Regions from separate parts of the Homo sapiens genome. Here regions 2 and 3 are each linked to region 1. The links are contacts of gene promoters, found by promoter capture Hi-C in blood cells and fetal thymus (Javierre and others, 2016). All regions are on one chromosome and are shown on one strand. Each heading gives the region's core, a stretch centred on a gene start or on the middle of the fragment in contact. The rest is flanking DNA. Distances are from core to core; before and after follow the strand shown. Region 1 holds the start of CFAP77 (cilia and flagella associated protein 77). Region 2 overlaps AK8 (adenylate kinase 8). Region 3 holds the start of AK8 (adenylate kinase 8).

Region 1 (4,045 bases), core at 1,007-3,506:
AGAAACGATGAGCCTATGTATGTACTCATGTTGCCATGCAAGGGCTGCTCTGGGATGTGGACGTGCAGTTGGAGCTCCGTCTGGAGAAGTCTGTAAATGTGGTGTTGTCCACTGTTGATATGGAAGGCCTTGAAGTCCAGGTCCGTCATTGGTGTCACGTGTTCTGTGGTGACCCCACTTACCCAGAGCCTTGTGGTGCTAGTGATGCATGAATGAACCCACAAAAGGCTGGCACTAGAGGAGAGATTAGATATCATCCAGTATCGATTCAGGAAAACTCCAATAGTGGTTTCCAATCCTCCTCCAACTGCACCAATCACCTGGGAAGCTTTTTTTTTTTTTTTTCAAATGCAGAGTCTCAACTTTGCAATGGATTTTATATTAAACACTATTGTATCACATTAAAATCTTCGGACATGATAATGACATTGTAGTTACACATGGGAATGTCCTTGCTACATGATGACGTACTTAGGGTTAAATATGGTGTTGACAGATATTTTTCAGGTGATTCTGTAATGTGTGTATGTGCATGCTCACAGAGAGAGAGCAAGAAAATGTGACCAGTGCTGGGGACGGGTGAATCTGTTAGTCCAAACTGCACCATTTTGTAAGCCCCCTGCCATTTTGCAGACCTTGCTTAAAGTGAAACATTCCACGGGGGTTCAGGCAGTGAGAAACAGCCTGCCTCTTATCATATTCTGCTGGGAGAAAGTGACAGGAACATCACGTTCCACCAGAACAAGGGCCAAACTGCCTCATCATGGGAATACCTTATCAACATCTTCCCGGGCAGCAGGCCATACCCACCGGGCCCCTCCCCGCCCAGGCCTATAATTTCTCCAGCCTGTAAGCAGCGGTAGGCACTGGCATTAAGCTGGTCTCCCACCTCTGTAGGTCTCATGCTGGACATAAAGCCTGAATTTGCTGTAGAGCCGCCACTCTTTCTTTAACCCTCCCCTTCCCTTCAAAATCTAACCGAATCTAGGTGAAGCCTATATGTATTTTCATTGTATTCTTCTTTCGACTTTCAACTTTTCTGTAGGTTTGAACTTTTTCACCAAGTTGTGGGTGGGTGGGTAAGGGGATTTTTAAAAATGCAGCATCTGGCCTGGTGAGGTGGCTCATGTCATTATCAGAGCAAGACTCCGTCTCTTAAAAAAAAAAAAAAAAGGAGAGCCTCAGATGCCATTTCCAGATATTCTGATTTAGTGAGTCTGGGGTGAGTCCTGTGAATCTTCGTTTTTCTTTTTTTGGCACATGGTCTCATTCTGTCATCCAGACTGGAATGTAGTTGCCGAAACACGGCTCATTGTAGTCTCAACCTCCTCAAGTGATCCTCCTGCCTCAGCCTCCCCCATAGCTGGGACCACAGGTGTGTGCCAGCACACCTGGGTAATTTTTTTAATTTTTGGTAGAGATGAGACCTCACCATGTTGCCCATGCTGGTCTCAAACTCCTGGGCTCAGGCCATCCTCCCTCCTAGGCTTCCCAAAGCAATGGGATTACATGGGTGAGCAGCCAAGCCCAGCCCAAATCTGTATTTTTCAATTTCCCTTCATTCTGTTGCTTAAATTTGGGAACCATTGATGTAATCCAACTCTAGCGTTTCCTTGTCACCCATCTCACAGGAAAAAAAGAAAAAAAGCCCTTAGGATCCAAGAGGGTGACTTGCCCGAGTCCTCCCAGTGGGTCAGCATCAGCATCAGGCTTGGAATGCATTTAGTGCTCTGTCTCAGGTGTGTGTGTGGCGCAAAGAGCAGAGGTGGGGAGGGGTTGTGAGTGGAATGGGGGTGAGCAGAGGATGGAGTCTTCGACTTGGAAGACAAATGTAAATGACCCTCTATGAGCCACGCCGCTTTGAACGCAACCCACTGGAGATTCTCGGTTCTCCTGTATCGATTCAGGAAAACTCCAAACAAGTCCACACTGGTAGCCACCAAGAGTTTCTTGAAAGAAAAGTACAAGCCGAGCCGGGCTCTGTTGGCGTCCCGTCGCCAAGGAGACGGGCCGTTGCATTCGTCCTCCAGGGGTGGTCTTGGTTTTCTTTCCTCTCCCAGTCTGCAACGCGGGGCCCAGGAGACGCCCTGAGGATCCCGCGGGGCTCCTGCATTGCTCCGGGGCTCTTTGCGATGAGGGGCCGGCGCGAGCGGGGCGCGCCTGGCTCCGGAGGGGTCCTGGCATCTGAGTTTCCCCCTCAGGATCCCGGTGGTGCGGCCCGGGCCGCCCGGCAGGCCCTTCGGAGCTCCAGGCTGTGCCCGACGTGGGGAAGCGCGCCCAAACCAGCCCGCGGGCCGGCTCCCCGGCGACCTCAAGGATGCCAGAGGCCAGGAGCTCCGGCCCGGACCTCACGCGATGGAGGAAGCAGCAGCAGCCTGTGCGCCGCACGGTCAGCCAGGTCTGCCCGCCCCCGCGGCGGCCCCTGACCGTGGCGGACATCCGTTCCGGCATGGAGAACGAGCGGCTGGGGGTCGTGCGGGACTCCATGTTTCAGAACCCTCTCATCGTCAAGGTGAGCACCCCACGCCCACCGCGCTTTCGCTGTCGCCGGCTCCGGGCACCTGCGCCGCCGGGGGTCCCCACCCGCAGCGCCCTGGCCCCGCGGCCCGGGGTCCGAGCGCAGCGTGGGAAGCTCCAGCTCTGGTCCAGACAGGCCTGGACCCCCATGCAGGTCGCGTCGCCTCTCTCAGCCTCGGTTTCCCCATCCTCACAGTGGGATGATAATGGCACCACTAAAGGGACTGATTGGGAAGATTGAATAGGGTAATTTCTGCGGGACCTCGGGACAGCGCCTGACATGGGGTAAGGCTGCAATGGGTGCTGCTGTGGTTTCCCACAGAGTGAACCCACAGGGTGACAGATAGGTCGCACACGCCCAGTCTAAGTCGTGGCTGCCAGCCCTCCCAGGGTAAAGGCCGCCTCTCCGGTTCCGCTGCACGCCTGGGGTACGTCTATGCAGCGGTGGCTCCGTGTCTGTCCTGGAAGCATCACGTCGAATGTTCATTTCCGTTCGATCATACTAATTTCTTACCCAAATTACAACCCTAAGAGAAAAAAAGCATAATCTTTGGCCTAGGAGGCTCCGCAGACAAGAATGAGGGAGCTGCGGTTTCGGGCTGGATCACTTTCCCTTCCATTACACTTCCCTCCTCCCCACCTTTAGCCTCGCTTCCCGCTGATGGGAAACCAACACTGCTGTGGCGGCCACACCTTCCCGGGGGCCACTGGAGAAGTCAGGCTGAGGCTTGGGGGTCAGGGAGCAAGCCTCGAGGCGAATTTATCTTGCGCCGCTGGAGGGCAGTGCGCCTTTAAAAATGCGCCCCGCGTCCCAGGTGCGGGAGTGGAAGGCGCAGGTGGTAACCGTGGATTCAACAACAATTATTTGTGTGACCGCCAGGCGCTGAGTAGAGCCCAGAGGTGGTGGTGGCGGTTTGTTTTTGTTTTGGGGAAAAGGGAACCCGTGCTAGAATTAACTGAGTTAATTGGCTCCTGGCAAAACATTGACTCCCTCCTCTTGCCTTCCCTAAACTCGGTCCTGAGAGGAGGAAGGATACTGCCTAGGCGCAGGCTGCACCTGGGGGAGGCTGGCTTCCCACACTCGTGCCTTTCCATCGAATAGGCTCCTTTCTTAGGCCTCTCAAAGTGGAACAAGGTCCTTCACTTACTTCTACGTGAGAAGAGCCACTCTGAGTGGACAGGCAGGACAGGCAGGTGGGGCCCATTATTCTTGGATGAAGGAGAGAATCACGTCCGCCACCTCTGACTACCTGCATTAAGGTTAGGTCGTTGCTTTTGTTCAAGTAGTTAGTAGTGAGCCAACTTCTTCCTACTGAAGTGTAAAGTGAGGGCGTATGGAGTTATTCTCCATGGTGAGTTAGTGTGTGGTGCCCACGCTGAGCAATATGTACACACACACACACACACACACACACACACATACATGCATATGCATTTGTGTATGCACCCATATAACATACCGTTTACATCTATCATATATACATGTATGCATATGTATAATATACATGTACATATGTGTAAAATGTAT
Region 2 (4,284 bases), core at 666-3,165, 370 kb after region 1:
ACAGCCAGGCAGAGGGCAGGTTTCTGGATGCAGCCATGAACATAGTTCTTTCTTTGTTTCTTTCTTTCTTTCTTTTTTTTTACTATTATTATTACGTTTTAACAAACTTTATAGCCCATTTTATTTGTTCTGAAATAACTTTTTTTCCTTCTTTTCGACAGATCAATTACTTGGTTTGTTTCCCTTACTGTATGATGTTGGAATCAAGAGATTGATACTGCTCAGTGGAATATAATTTAGTATTATGTGCCATGGGTTTATGAGGTAGGAGTCAGACAAAACATTGCATTTGAACACTACCCATTTATTAGCTCTAAGAAGAGATTTATATTTGACAAGGAGACAATAGCTTTGTTTTCTGATAAGCCAAAGAGGTCTATTTTTGTGTCCAATACACTGAGTAGCTTACCCTTCCCCGATAACTCTATTTACTAGTGTGAATATATTTTAATAATAAAATTGATATATATGTAAATTTATTTTAATCTAATTTCATTGAACCTTCCTTAAAAAAAGAGCCTTTGTAGATTTTCATATCTGAATTATAGATTTCTGTATCGTATTCCCAGATTGATTTCTAGGCTATAATTCTGTCAAGATTTCCTCCTGGTGTCAAAAACAGCAACACCACAGCTAGAGTGTTTTATAATTGGCATCACAACCGAACCAGAATTACAGTCCTGATAGTCATCCTGGTGCTAGGTGGATTCATTTTAGAATATTTCTCTCTTTCTTAGCCTGTATCTGAACTTGAAGGTTTACGGCTAAGATTACTTTCTGAGTTAATCATAAAAATGTTTAACTGAAAGCTAAGGTGCTGGAGATGGAAGAGACAGAGATGAGAAAGGAGGAAGGAAAATATACCTTCAATGACTACGAAAGGATGATCAACAGCAGCATATGATTAAATCTACATTGTAAATCAAGATTTTTTGTTCCTGCCTGTCCTTCGCCCTAGGGTCAAATAAATTAAATTGGCATTCTTTACTAAGTCTTTAGAACGTGATTTTCACTCCGTGGTGAACGGAAGAGTGTTTCCTTGCAACCCTGCCCTAAATCAAATCGGTTCTTGAATATTCCTCCTGTGTGCTTTTCCTCCCTGTGTTGGTCCTGTAGTACTGGTGCTTGGGCTCGGTAAGTAAAACAGTCATTTTTCCCCCCAGGCTTCAGAAAACCAGCACAGGATTCTCTCCCCTGACCTGTTAATGACACCCTGCCCCTGCCTTCTTTAAAGTGATTGTTCTGCATTTTCCCCAGTGCGTTTCATCTTCACATAGCTGATGCGCTCACAAAGAAGCTATGCAGGCTGGGAGCAGTGGCTCACGCCTGTAATCCCAACACTTTGGGAGCCCAGGGCGGGTGGATCACCTGAGGTCAGGAGTTTGACACCAGCCTGACCAACATGGTGAAACCCCGTCTCTACTAAAAATACAAAATTAGCTGGGCATGGTGGCACGCGCCTGTAATCCTAGCTACTTGGGAGGCTGAGGCAGGAGAATCACTTGAATCCGGAAGGCGGAGGTTGTAGTGAGCCAAGATCGTGCCATTGCACTCCAGCCTGGGCAACAAGAGCGAAATTCCGTCTCAAAAAAAAAAACAAAAACAGAAGCTATGCAACTGATGCTGTGACATTAACCACGTCTGTGGCATTAACTATGTTAGGAAGAACAGAGGGTGGACACTTAGCCTTTGGGTACTTTGGTCCCTGGAATTTCACAGGAATAACGGCAGTAAAACAGGATGCTCAGGTTAACACTATCAGATCCCCGCTGCCCTGGGCCTAAACAGGTTTCAGTCTTCCAATGGGAAGCTCTGTAGCCCAAACTCTAGGGATATAATTCAGAGTTGAGGAGATTCTAACTTTGGGAAAGGCAGAATAATGCCTGCCCCCAACTCCAAGATGTTCACCTCTTAATTCCCAGATTCTGTGAATAGGTTATCTTACCAGGAACAAGGAACTTTGCAGATTGGATTAAGTTAAGGACTGTGTTGATATGGTAAGATTATCTCAGGTTATCTGGGTAGGCCCAATCTAATCACATGGCTCCTTAAAATCTGAGACCCTTTCCCGGCGCTGGTCTCAGGGAGACATGAGTACAGAGGAAGGATGGGAGTTGCACTACGGCCTCTGAAGATGGTGGGAGGGGTTGTGAGCCAAGGAATGTGGAAGCCTCTAGAAGGTGGAAGAGGCAAGGAAACGGATTTTGCCCTAGAGCCTCCAGGAAGGAATGCAGCCCTGGCAGTGCCATGATTTTTAGAACTACAGAATTTGAAGACAATAAATTTGTGTTGTTTTAAGCCACCAAGTCAGTGGTAATTTATGATGGCAATATAGGTAACTAATATGCCAACTCACACTATTCTTAGACAAACAACCAGCCTATTCAAAGGTAAAGGATTTACAGAATATATCCATCTTGGGACCCAGTTATAGGTGCTACCAAAAAATGGAAGGAAAGGGGCATAAAAGTTAAAAAAAAAAAAAAAGAGAGAGAGACAATGAATACCTGTTAGAAAATGAATTACTCCAGGAAACATAAGAACATTTTAGATAAAACCTTACCAGAATGTTCTAAATAATTTAAAGAGAATGGACTCCATGATATAGGAAGTGAAAGAAAAGATGATGAGATTTTTAAAAAGGAGATGCAAAGAAAGCTCACAAAATGAAGGAAAAATGCCTAAGGGGAAAAGTAAAAGCATTATGGAAACAAAAAAACAAATGAAAAACAGCAAGAAATAAACACAGCAGAAAACAGTCAGTTACCATGAAGGTCAGAGTGGAGAAAATAATACCAAAAAGAGTAAGGTAAAAGCCACCAGCAGAAAATCCGAATTATGAAAAGCTGATGATAAATATCTAACACACACATAATTGGTCTTACTGAAGAAGAAAACCAAGCAAATGAACCAGAAAAATATTAATATATCTACTGGAAGAAAATCATCCTGAAATACTGTAAGTGAAAGGGTTCCTAATGTCCAGAGAAAAGTAATAAGGAGAACCAAGACTGAGCTATGGCCTGGTGATTGTAAATGAACTTAAAGAGAAAGAGAAGGGGGTAGGGGACACAGACAGAGGCAGAGAGACAGAGAGATCTCCCGAACACCCAGGCAAAAGAAACACATCCATAGGCCGGGCGCAGTGGCTCATGCCTGTAATCCCAGCACTTTGGGAGGTTGAGGGGGTGGATCACCTGAGGTCAGGAGTTCAAGACCAGCCTGGCCAACATGGTGAAACCCTGTCTCTACTAAAAATACAAAAAGTAGCTGTGCATGGTGGCACACATCTGTAATCCCAGCTACTCAGGAGGCTGAGGCAGGAGAATCGCTTGAAGTCAGGAGGGGAAGGTTGCAGGGAGCTGAGATTGCGCCATTCCGGCCTGGATGACAGAGTGAGACTCCATCAAGAAAGAAAGAAAGAAAAGGAAGGAGGGAAGGAAGGAAGAGAGAAAGAAAGAAAGAGAAGGAAAGAGAAACACATCTGGCAAGATGTCAGAGGCTGTGCAGAAGGGATTTGGAACACTGAGGGCGGGGGAGGAGCTTGGGGAGAGAAAGAAAGAAACATGATCAAAGAATTCTTTGCCAGATGTTGTTTACAAGTAAAAATAACAGAAAGACATTCTCAAGTATGCAAAAATTCAGGAAGTTTAGTATCTATGTACCCTAGCTGAAAATGAATCAAAGACATAATCCATTCAAATGAAAGATAAAATCAAAATTAATAAATGAAGAGGTTGAAATATATAAACAACTGGTGTTGAAATCTTAATCCAGTTTTAAAGAGAATAAAAACTTTGTAAGTATAGTAATTATAGTTAAAAACAGAATATAATTGTTATATTTCTAGAAAGAAAAGCTTAATCAATACTGATTAAAAACAATAATCTGTGTATAATAGACTGGCACAGAAAAATTTCAGGATATGTCTGTCCCTGGCTCCCCCAAAATGGAGAATGGCTGGAGAAGGGGGATGAGGAGGCAGTACATGTGGGATACTCTTTTTTTTTTTTTTTTTTTAGATGGAGTCTTGCTCTGTCGCCCAGGCTGGAATGCAGTGGCGTGCTCTCGGCTCACTGCAACCTCTGCCTCCCGGGTTCAAGCAGTTCCCTGCCTCAGCCTCCTGAGTAGCTGGGACTACAGGCGCCCACCACCATGCCCGGCTAATTTTTGTATTTTTAGTAGAGACAGGGTTCCACCATATTGTCCAGGCAGGTCTTGAACTCTGGACCTCGTGATCCACCTGCCTCGGCCTCCCAAAGTGCTGGGATTACAGGCGTGAGC
Region 3 (3,968 bases), core at 673-3,172, 470 kb after region 1:
AAATCAATAATTTCAAGGATATCACTTAGGATGAGGCAAAAGCGGCTATTTAATTTTTTAAAAGGTGAGTTGATTTAAACAAGTGATTAGTTTAAATGGAGGTGCAGTAGCGGTTATGCAAATCTGTACATGTGATACAACTGCACAGAACTGTATGCACAACAAAAACATCAATGCAGGTAAAAATGGAGGAAATCCAAACAAGGCCTACAGTTCAGGTAATCCTATTGTACCAATGCCAGTTTCCTGGTTTTGACAATGTGCTACAGTTATGTTAGATGTTATCACGGGGGCAATGTGGGAGGGGAGACCAGAAATCCATACTATTTTTTAACTTCCTGTGAATCTAACATTATTTTAAAATCAAAAGTATAAAAAATGGAAATGGTCAAAAACATGGAGGGAATCCACAGATGACTAAGGACTGGAAATACTGGACTGAAAGCTTTCTTGTTGGGAGGCCGAGGCAGAAGGACTGTTTGAGCCCAGGAGTTCAAGACCAGTCCGGGCAACATAGCAAGACCTCGTCTGTACTAAAATTAAAAAAAAAACATTAGCCAGGTATGGTGGCCTGCACCTGTAGTCTCGGCTACTCTGGAGGGACTAAGGCAGAAGGATTGCTTGAGCCCAGGAGTTCAAGGCTGCAGTAAGCCATGATTGTATCACTGCACTCCAGCCTGGGCAGCAGTGCAAGACCCTGTTTCAAAATCAATAAAAGCTTTCCTGGGCAATTCCTCCAACAATCAATGTGGAAAACACACCAGGTTCTCTAGAGCAGACAACAGGGCTCCAGATGATCCCCCATCCTGCCCTGACCTGCTGACTTCTAACCCAGCTAGCTATTTGATTTGTGATTGGCCACTCAAGCAGTTTTAGGAATCTCTTGCTCTCCCTCTATCAGTTAACACTTTCCGAGGGAAATGTGTTTGATGGAGGTGCAGACACGGGTTTCTTCGTCTGGGCTCAGCTGTCTAGTGTGCAGGGCAGAACCTCAAATGACCACAGACACCACTATGCCCTCCATGCCATGCCCCTGGGGATGGGGTGTACCCTGGGAAGCAGACAAATGATCTGAAAACTGAGCTCCAGCTTCCCCTTGCCTCTCAGAACCTTTGAGTGGCTGAGAGTTCTTCCCCTCCAGCTCCTGAAAGCCTTGACCTCCACCACGTGCAAAAGGGAAAACTGGGGCCCTGGCGGGGACGGGGCCTCGCCCAAAGTCACACGGTGAGCTGGGGGCCCAGTCAGGCCTGGAGCCAGAATGAGAGCTTCGGAGCTGCCGGGGACGTCTGGCCCTGAGGAGGAGGGACCAAGGTGGGAGATGCTGCTGTCCCAGAGGCGGCCCTCTCTGAGGATGGAGATGCCAGCTTGAACTCGGACAATGCCCACCTCAGAAACCTGGGCCGAGAGGCTCCCCACAAATTCGACAGATGGTAATTGTCAGCGCCGGGAGAGCCCCTGGGAGACCACCTCTTGCAACCTGGCATTTCACAGGTGGGGAAACCGAGAAAAGGAAAGGACTGGTTCCAGACCATAAGGCCCGCTGGCGGCACAGCCAGGACCAAATCCCGGCTCGAGTGGCCCCCTTCCTCCCCCTGGGTCCGCCTGAGGCAAACCCGGGCAGGACCAGGAGCGTCCCCAGCTCGAGGGCCCCCTCGGGGTCACGGCGACACACGAATCGTACATCCCGAGTTGGGCTGCTTCGTGGGCGCGCGACTCGGCCCCAGCTGCGGGTCCCGGCCGCGCACCCGACGTCGCAGTGGAGGCTCCCGAGCCGCCGCCAGCGTCGCGACGGGCAGGGGTGTCCGGTCACCTGCATCAACTCGAAGATGTGGTTCTCCTCCCCGTACTGGGGCATCTCGGGGGGGATACGGTGCGGGGCGATAGTGGCGTCCATGTAGCCGTCTCGGCTCGCCGCTCCCTAGTAACCGCGTCGCTAGGGCCGCCGCGCCGACTGCGTCATCAGCACGCGCCGCGGCCCCGCCCTGCAGGCTCCGCGCCGGGCCCAGATACCCGATCCTCGGTCGCGCGGGTCGCCCCCGCCCCGACCTCCCCGGCTGACGCGCTCTGCGGCTCGGGCAAGTTCTTTCCCCAACCCCGGCCTCGCTTTTCCCATTTGCGCATCTTAGCGGGGGACACCCTCAGGTGGCTTCCAGCTGGGCCTCCTCGTATCTGAGACCCCCGACGAAACCCAGAAGGGGCAAGTCGGCCCTCCGAGGGGACGGGAGGCAGAACCTGCTTCTGGTTCTGTCAGTGCTCCCCGGCCCGGCTCCCTGTGCCTCAGTTTACCCATCTTTAAAACAGACGCGGGAATAAATGTGGGGGAGGGTGTTTGAAGGGGGAGGGGCGTCCATGAGATGGGCCGGAGGTTCGAGGATCGGGTGGAAATCCTCAGCCCAACTCCTAGAGTCGAGCCCCGGTAGACCCCTCCCAGCTCCCCGGCTCTGGCCAAGCCGCCAAGTGACCCGATTGCTATGGCACCGGCGGTAACAATCACGCCCGCGGCCCCGCCCCTTCTCGCCCGACGTCCCCACCCACCCTCGCCTCCCAAGTCCTGGAACGGGCCTCCCCACCCTCCGGGGCACCGACACTCACGGAGTCACTCCAACTTCTCTGGGTGCTCCGTGGAGCGAAGAGCGCTCTAGGACAAGCAAGGGTAAACAGGGATGAGTGTGGGTGGGCCCACTCGGACCCCACCCCGGCCTCTGGGTCAGAAACTGGAAGCTGGGGTGGAGGATGGAAAGATGGAGGGGTCCGGAGGATGGAGGGGCCTGCACAGCTGTCTCGGGGTGGGGGCGAGGGGAAGGTTCGCGCTGGAGACGGAGCTTTTTAAGTCGTATGAATTCCCAGTGGTACGGGGCAGCTTGATATTTTATTAGTCGCAACACTGAATTGGGATCTCTAGCTCTTGTCTGTTGCCGTTAATCGTAGGAGCTGTAAGAGTTTGTTGAACTCTTTGTGCTCTCGGCAAAATTCTGTTGTCTCTGTACCTTATGGAGAGGGAAAATGGCACAGTCAATGCAGACAGCCCCAGCTTCAAGTTCTGGCTCCGCTTCTTACTGTGTGAGCTTGGCAAACTCTCTGCTTGCTCCGTGCCTCACTTTCCTGCCCTGTGAAGAGGGAACTGCTGAAGGATTTCAGGAGCTAATGTATTGGAGAGTAATTGGCATGCAGTAAGCACACAATATATGGGGCTACTATTAGTAGTAGTATCTCATTTAATCGTTCCAACAATCCTGTGAAATAGGCACCTTCATTCCCATTTTACAGATGAGAAGTTGGAGGATTAGAACAATGAGGAGTGGTTGGCTGGGTAACTTTGGGTGAGTCACTTCCCCTTTCTGGGCTTCTTTTCTCATCAGTTGTTGATCATACAGCCTTAGAACCAGAAGGCCTCTTGAAGAAGAGGCTAATCCAAACTCTCTCATTTGACAGATGGATAAACTGAGGCCCAGAAAAGGGGGAAATCTTGGCTAGGGCCACTGGTTAGATTGGGCAGAGCCAGGGCATGAACTCTGCATCCAGGCTCCAGCTAAAGCCCTTTTCTACCAGCCATCAGCCCAGAGACATGCCCTCCCAACGTAAAAGCCAGCACTGTTGCCTCTTCCCCTCCAAACCGCTTCCTCAAAGTGTGTACACCTTGGTAGGCTTGTCAAACCCAACTGTAAAGATAGCTGGGGAAGAAAAGGAAGCTGCCTCCCCCTGAGCAAAGAACACAACAGCCATGCCTGCCATTTGCACTGGAGAGGTTTGTTTTGCTTCCTGGACATTTCTGAAATGACTTGCCTTTCTCCTCATTTATTTTAAGCCCTAGGCGCTTTTCCTACCATGATTCAATCTTCTTTAGCAGCCTGGAAAAATACAAATCAATTAAAGCCTAAAACCTATGGGTAATCATTTTTTTCCTCCCTCCTCCCCCAGATCGAGAAGTGCCCGTCCCCTGTGCCCTTCATCCACACTAATTTGGCTGC

Evidence for each region. The method cuts DNA at HindIII sites, captures the fragments that hold promoters and counts their contacts. A CHiCAGO score of 5 or more calls a contact.
Region 2: a contact is called between a fragment that was not itself captured here and the fragment with the promoter of CFAP77 in region 1, in 1 of 17 cell types (total CD8 T cells). The highest score is 5.5, in total CD8 T cells.
Region 3: the fragment with the promoter of AK8 here is called in contact with the fragment with the promoter of CFAP77 in region 1 in 10 of 17 cell types (activated CD4 T cells, endothelial precursors, naive CD8 T cells and 7 more); the score reaches 7.7 in activated CD4 T cells.

The regions. Positions count from the first base shown.
Region 1 is chr9:132,407,955-132,411,999 of GRCh38, forward strand. It overlaps CFAP77 (cilia and flagella associated protein 77), which reads left to right and starts at 2,257. Exons shown (of 6, transcript NM_001282957.2): 1 at 2,257-2,512. The coding sequence starts at 2,318. It overlaps LOC105376304 (a long non-coding RNA gene), which reads left to right and starts at 2,687. Exons shown (of 3, transcript XR_930405.2): 1 at 2,687-3,777. RefSeq lists a silencer at 3,365-3,414. The HindIII fragment of the contact is 3,866 bases long and covers 327-4,045 here.
Region 2 is chr9:132,781,104-132,785,387 of GRCh38, forward strand. All of the region lies in intron 11 of AK8 (adenylate kinase 8), which reads right to left. Among named protein-coding and RNA genes, the nearest start is that of AK8, 95 kb to the right of the region's middle. The HindIII fragment of the contact is 3,884 bases long and covers 1-3,857 here.
Region 3 is chr9:132,876,362-132,880,329 of GRCh38, forward strand. AK8 (adenylate kinase 8) reads right to left here and starts at 1,923. Exons shown (of 13, transcript NM_152572.3): 1 at 1,811-1,923. The coding sequence starts at 1,894. SPACA9 (sperm acrosome associated 9) reads left to right here and starts at 2,537. Exons shown (of 4, transcript NM_001316897.2): 1 at 2,537-2,653. The HindIII fragment of the contact is 5,580 bases long and covers 717-3,968 here.